Linked DNA regions of Homo sapiens: region 2 is linked to region 1. Evidence: promoter capture Hi-C in 16 types of primary human blood cells and fetal thymus (Javierre and others, 2016). All regions are on one chromosome and are shown on one strand. The core of a region is centred on a gene start or on the middle of the fragment in contact, and the rest is flanking DNA. Distances in the headings are between cores, read along the strand shown.

Region 1 (3,623 bases), core at 513-3,012:
GGTGCCACTGCATTCCAGCCTGGATGACAGAGCGAGACTCCATCTCAAAAAGAGAAAGTGTCCTACAGGTCTTTTCCCACAAAGTATGTGGGTCATTGTCTCAGTCTGTTCAGGCTGCTATAACAAAATACCACAAACTGGGTGGCTAATAAACAACAGGAATTTATTTTTCACAGTGCTGTAGGCTGGGAATTCCAAGATCAAGGTGCCGGCAGATTCAGTGTTTGGGGTAGGCCCACTTTTTGGTCCATAGATGGTGCCTTATTGCTCTGTTCTCACATGGAAGAAGGGGCAAGGCAGCTCTCTGGAGCCTCTTTTCCGAGGGCACTAATCCTATTCATGAGGGAGGGTTCCTGCTGATGACCTAATCACCTCCCAGAGGCCCTACCTCCTAACACCACCACACTGGTGATTAGGTTTCAACGCATACATTTTATGTGGAGAGAAACATTCAGACCACAGCAGTAGTGAAAGAGAAAAGAGGTTTGAAATGCCTAGAGTTATACCCGGGCATGTGGGAAGTAATCAGCTGTGAAATTGTTAAGGTAAGGATTTGGTTCTTATTAATGACTAGCCAACATGGTTCTCTCCTGGTTGGAAAAAGCTTGATAATAAAACTATAAAACTTCCATCAGTTTTTAAAAGGGAAGTGTAGGAATAAATCTGTCGTAGTACTTTAAATAGGAAGTTATGTCTAAGTGTAAATTACTACATGTTATGTATCACAACATATGGATCACATAACATGATATTAAATGATTATGAAGCTGAAAGACATTTTCTAAACAATCAGAAATTAAGAAACAAGTATTGATCAACCATGCTAGAAGACAGATTGAATTATCTTTATATCCTCTTTGGAGAAAATATTACAAAATTGTTGTCACATGAAGAAGGGATCAATAAGCATGTGGGCAATAATGTAGGAAAAAATACAAATGTGTGGCAGGCATTATTTAATAAAAATGTTATACCTTTTTGGAAAGAGATAACATGAGATGTACACATTACAGCCATTGTATCATACACAAAAATTGAATACCCTTTTTGTTTTTCATAACATTGAAATTTTGGAGTTCACGTCAGGTGTTTTGTAGATTGTCCTACATTTTGAATACATCTGATTGTTTCTTCATGGTTAGATTCAGGTTAGACATTTTTTGCAAGAAGACCATATAGGCGAAGTTTTTCCTTTTTCATACGCATTACATCAGGAGGCATATGAGATCAGATGGCCATTTATTGGTAATGCTACTTCTGGTTATTTGGTTAAGACGGAGCATATATCTTTAAGTTGTTAATCACACAGCCACTGTATCCAGACTGCTGAGAAGCAAACTATCAGGCAAAATTCAGGGCGCGCAGCAGGAGGCAGTCGCTTTCCCGGCTCTGGGGAAAACGATCCAACCACGCCCACTCTCCTGCCCGCCCGCGCCTCCTTTCCGGGAAAATGGGCTCTGAGAACCAGAGCGCCCTTTCTCCCACGCGCCCAAATCTTTTCCCATCAGCATGCGTGCGCTTGCGCAGTCTCCAGGCGGCTCCTTTCCAGCGCCCGACCGCTTCTTTCTCCTGCTCTCCTCCGGCTTCCCCTCAGCTCTAGCTTTTCCCTAAGGGGTCATCACAGGGCGCCAAACGCGCGTCCGCGGGAAGGCCGGGGGCGGAGCGCGGCGCGGCGCGGCACGTCAGTGGCCTTCCGGCCGGAAGTCCGCAGCCTCCCGAGCCGCTGATTGGCTTTCAGGCTGGCGCCTGTCTCGGCCCCCGCGCCAGTTTTGGGCTGGTTGGCGCGGAATCGGGAGATTCGGGACCATGGCACCTGTGCACGGCGACGACTGTGAGATAGGGGCGAGTGGTGAGGGACAATTCCGCGCGCGGGGCTCCGGGTTGGGACAGTGGCATGATTGCCGGTGGTGGGGGTTCTGAGGGAGGCGCACACCCGGGTTTGTTTGGGCGCAGACCTTGGTCGTCCCCGGCGGGGGCCCTTCTGGCGTCGGACCGGGCTTCCTTTAGGCGCGGTTTGCTCTTGGAGGACCAGAGCCTGGAGGGATTTTTGTTTGGGAGGCTGTCTCACCTCTGCCACTGAGAGTCTCCACAGTCGATTGCGTTTCTATTTCTTTTGGTGAGTTGCACCCACGTGCTGGGTATAACTTTATTGAGACTGGCCCCGTGGGGCCGAAAGTATTTCACTGCGATCTCCCTAAGTATCCACTTGAAGGCTTGAACAGAACAGATCTGTGTCCCTTTTTGTAGGAACTTCCAGGAAAATTTTATACATTGTAACTAAGCAGGAAAGAAAGCTCTAAGTGCTGTCATCGGGGAATAACGCGTTTTGTATTTTTAGGTAATGGGTTTCTACTTTATGCATTAACAATTTTTCTTTCAGATTCTTTGGAAAGTTCTTCAAGTGCTGCGTAGAAATCCTGTTCACAATCTAGTCATTCCTGGTGAAGTTTCAAAAAAATGGCATCAATTTAGGGCATTTCGGATCCCCTGTATATCACTCCGTTTGTCAGGGGTGTCTTTTATTTCCAAAAATAGAATACAAAAATGCAAATAGATTTGTCTGATTTTTTAAGTGTTCAACTAAAGCGTGACTTCAGTTAACTTCTAACTTAAAATCAGATGCTTCACTTTGTTAGCTCAAGCGTCACCTCTCCTGTCATTCAGATACATCACCATTAATGAGAACTCGCTTCCTAATCAGCTTCCTTTGCATTCACCTAGTTGTGAGTCACAGATTTCAATTTGTTCTAGCCGTTCGTTTTTTAAGACTATTTTGGAGAGTCGACCTGCCTGGATTACAGATAGGATGTTGGGTGTAAGTATGTGAACGAACAGTCTTTGCAGGCCTCTATCAGTGATTTGCCACTAAGCCCTTTCTTCATCCTAAAAACTACGTCATCTATGAACATCAGGAAATCACTTTGGAGGATACTGTGCAATCTTGAGACTCCTCTTAGGTCATGGTGTTCATTAAGTAGTTGCTGGGGACTTGTGACTGGAATTTTTCCTTTAGAGCAGACTGAAGGATTGTTACCTGAAAGACTGCTGTAAGCTAGTGTCTGTCTGCTTTTGGGGAGGATAGAGATACTCCAGATGGTAATTTTGAAACAAATATTTAAACCTTTGTAGCTGGATTTTTTTCATGCTTATTCTTTTTTTGCTAAGTTACCTACGTGAAGCATTGGAGACATACTCCAAAAAACAAAATGTAGGCTTTTTTTTTTCTTCAGTATTAGCAGGCAGGGCACCTTGATAATGGCAGTGAAAAGTTGAAAGGTCTGTAACTAGCTGTTACTATATATGAAAAAAGATCAGGGAATTTTTATTTATTTATTTATTTTTGAGACAAAGCTTCCCTCTTGTTGCCCAGACTGGAGTGCAGTGACGTGATCTCAGCTGGCTGCAACCTCTGCCTCCTGGGTTCAAGCAGTTCTGCCTCAGCCTCCCGAGTTGCTGGGATTACAGGTGCCCACCACCACACCGGCTAATTTTTTGTATTTTCAGTAGAGACAGGGTTTCACCATGTTGGCCAGGCTGGTCTTGAACTCCTGATGTCAGGTGATCCACCTGTCTCTTCCTCCCAAAGTGATGAGATTACAGGCATGAGCCACTGCGCCCGGCCA
Region 2 (3,623 bases), core at 793-3,292, 230 kb after region 1:
GAGGAAGGAAGGATACATTTCCTGACTGTAGCAGGGGATGGTGATAAGGGTGGCGTGGGTATATGGCCAGGCTGGCAGTTGAGGGGCATGTAGAAAACTTGTGAGAGTGGACCTGAAGGGTTGGAACTTTATCCTGTGTGTGGTGAGGGTGCTAGTAGGGATTTTTCAGCAAAGACTATCCTAAGCTGGATTTTCATTTCTAGACATGTACCTCATGATCTCTGTCAGTGCTAGTGAGGTTTAGAGTTCTGAATCTGCTATATGGTATGATACCTAGATTTAACTGTATCTTCACCATTTGCAAAGTAATGCAGTTTAATACACCTTCATTATATTTTACAGTTATAGCGAGTGCTGGATTATCTATGCTTCTACTAGAACGTGGTGTTTGGGGGTACGTTTTGGGTTTTTTGGCAGCTGATTTTCCTTCATGATTTGATATTTTTCAGGCTTCACCAAAATGAATTTTACATCAATGAGAATGTACCAGTTGATGATGCAAGGAGGCAGGCCTTGCATCTTCTGGGTTGTATGAGGGTGATAACTTGAGATTAAGATTTTGCTGTGGATAATCTCTAAGGTCATGAGCCCAACTCTTCATACCTCAAGGAATTTAATTCAGGGACAAGTTGTGTTATGAGATGACTTTAGCTAATTTCTGCTGTCCCTACAAATGAGAGAGAAAAGACTGGTTATGTTCCCATGCAAATATCTTAGAAATATAAAGTAAAAGACTGTCTTGTCAAACCAGTTCAAAAGAAAGTCAGATGAAATCGATACCTCAGAAAACAGTTTGGCAGTACCTACTAAAGCTGAACATTTGCATGCCCTATGACTCAGCATTTCCCCTCCTCCAAACTGTAATCAACAGAAAATGATACATATTAATATGTGCTTCAAAGACATGTACAGGAATATTCACAGTAGCATCATTCCGTTTGTTTGTTTGTTTGTTTGTTTGTTTTGAGATGGAGTCTTGCTCTGTTGCCCAGGCTGGAGTGCAGTGGCATGAGTGAGCTCAGCTCACTACAACGTCCACCTCCTGGGTTCAAGCGTTTCTGCTGCCTCCGGAGTAGCTGGGACTCACAACAATGAGAAGAAATGCGTGACTGCTACACAGGACAACATAGATGAATCTCACAAACACAATATTGAGAAAAAGAAGGCTGGGTGTGATGGCTGAGGAGTTCGAGACCAGCCTGAGCAATATAGCAAGACCTCATCTCTACTAAAAGTTTTTTTTTTTTTTTAGTTAGCTGGGTGTGGTGGCACGCGCCTGTGGTGCCAGCTACATGGGAGGCTTAGGTGGGAGGATTGCTTGAGCCCAGGAGTTCAAGGCTGCAATGAGCTATGATTGCGCCACTGCATTCCAGCATGGGCAACAGAGTGAGACCCTGTCTCACAATAAATAAAATAAAAATAGAAAGAAACCAAATAGAAAAGAACACAAACTGTACGACTGCATGCACATAAAGTTTAAAGGCAAATCTATTGTTAGCTTTAAGGGGAAGATGGGGAATAATTAGGGGAATAAGGGGGGCCTCTGGGATACTAAAAATGTTGTTTCTTGCTCTGCGTACTGATCACAGAGATGTGTTCATTTTGTGCATCAAGCCGTACACCTAGTATTTGTGTACTTCTTGTGTTTTTATTATAATTCAGTAAAAATTTAGGACCAAAAAAATGCAAGTCAGCTTTAACACTGCCCTGTATTTTATGTAACAGAAAATATATCCTATCCTAATCTTGAAATAACTTGCTTAAACAAGCAAGCATCTTCCTCAGAAATGATTCTCATGAAAACTTCTCAGCCTATTTTGGATAACATAAATTCCTTGATCTTGAGCCAGATTAGAAGGATCAGAGTCTATGGTTCTAAAAGTATCCCCGATACAGGTAGTGTGTAGCACAGCAGTTCTCATCTCAGACTGCCCACTAGAACTACCTGGCAGCCCTTTAAAATGCTCATATCCAGCACTCCACTCTATACTCTCATTTAGTTGTTCTGGGGCTGAGGTCTGATCATCAGTACTTTTTTTTTTTTTGAGATGGAGCCTCACTCTTTTGCCCAGGCTGGAGTGCCGTGGCGTGATCTCGGCTCACTGCAACCTCCACCTCCCAGGTTCAAGTGATTCTCCCACCTCAGCGTCCCAAGTAGCTGGGACTACAGCCATGCGCCACCACACCCAGCTAATTTTTGTATTTTTTTTTTTAGTAGAGACGGGGTTTCACCATATTGGCCAGGCTGGTCTCGAACTCCTGACCTCAAGTGATCTGCCCTCCTATGCCTCCCAAAGTGCTGGGATTACAGGTGTGAGCCACCACACCCAGCTATCAGTACTTTTTTTAAAGCTCTTGGGGTGACTGGTTTGCAGCCAGGTAAGGGACCACTGATATAGGACCTCATCAGAAATCTCAGGAGAGAGACTGGATAATATTGATAAATGGATTCAGGACTATGTTTTGGTCATAAAGTACTTTGACTTGGAGAAAGAATGAAGTTTGCGTTGTTTCTAATATAATCTGATTACAGGATTCAAAAAGAACACATAAAAAACGGTGGTATTAAAGCATTTTCCTTTTCCCTTCATTTCTTCAACAATATTTGCCAAGTCGTCCCCTGTGCCAGGTATCAAAACAGAGTTCTTTCCTTACCCCTGTGTGTATATGGACCTATGAGTGCACCCGTGGCCCACCCTTATTACTCTGGTAACACTCCAAGTAACTAACTTGAATGCAGAGCGTGATACATACAGTAGCTATTTCAGCTCAGTATTGTCCTTACCAAATCACAGTCGGCCACTTTGGTACATGATGTTCTAACTATAAAGGAAGACTGAAAGAAGCCTAGGCACTGTGTTGAGTGCAATTTTCAAGGAAAGAGCAAGAAATCGAACATTTTAAACCAATAAGTGAAAGCTGGAGAGAGAAAGAAATGTTAAAATATCATCTTATTTTCTTGAAGTATTTTCCATCCAATCTTGTACAGTCAAAATGAGCATTTAAGTGTGAGGAAAAAAACGCTGAAGATCTCAGATAAGACTAGAGAGTGTCAGGTTTCTTGATTAGAAGAATTTATCATCAAAGGCAAAAGAGAAAAGATGGTAAAGATTTTTTAAAAAACAAAAAATCTCCAAGGGATCACAAATTAGTGGTGCAAAATCAAGACAACAAAAGTAGGTGTTATTCTTGTTCATTTAAACTATAGTTTTCTCTGTTTCATGTGTGTTTTTTAAAACCACTTAATTGTATTTGACATTGAAAATGTAATAGGGCCTTTTGTTTTCAACCAGTTTACTAATTGCAAAATATGTCAGGAATCAAAAGGGCAGGAGGTGTTGGTATATTTTTTTAAAATATATAACTCCTTTTTAATTTTTTCCCCTATTTTCCTTATCCATTTAGGCAGTGACTTTCAATTAGCCTGCCTACTAATATCAGGTCACTAAACTCCGTGGCTGACGCTTTATTCCTTCATGTGGGTTGTCACTCGTTTGCTTCAGTTGGCTGGCAAAGGTTGTTGTATATCCATTACTAGCAACACAGCACTTTGCATTTCTGAATTGACAAGCAGCTATATTGACCCAGCGCTTATTATGGGTCAACAGCTGCGTTAACCAACG

Evidence for each region. The method cuts DNA at HindIII sites, captures the fragments that hold promoters and counts their contacts. A CHiCAGO score of 5 or more calls a contact.
Region 2: a contact is called between a fragment that was not itself captured here and the fragment with the promoter of POLA1 in region 1, in 1 of 17 cell types (neutrophils). The highest score is 6.4, in neutrophils.

The regions. Positions count from the first base shown.
Region 1 is chrX:24,692,156-24,695,778 of GRCh38, forward strand. POLA1 (DNA polymerase alpha 1, catalytic subunit) reads left to right here and starts at 1,763. Exons shown (of 37, transcript NM_001330360.2): 1 at 1,763-1,849. The coding sequence starts at 1,807. RefSeq lists enhancers at 1-232, 1,935-2,024 and a silencer at 1,585-1,744. The HindIII fragment of the contact is 2,747 bases long and covers 603-3,349 here.
Region 2 is chrX:24,924,805-24,928,427 of GRCh38, forward strand. The region is part of intron 35 of POLA1 (DNA polymerase alpha 1, catalytic subunit); the gene reads left to right. Among named protein-coding and RNA genes, the nearest start is that of ARX, 89 kb to the right of the region's middle. The HindIII fragment of the contact is 5,373 bases long and covers 1-3,623 here.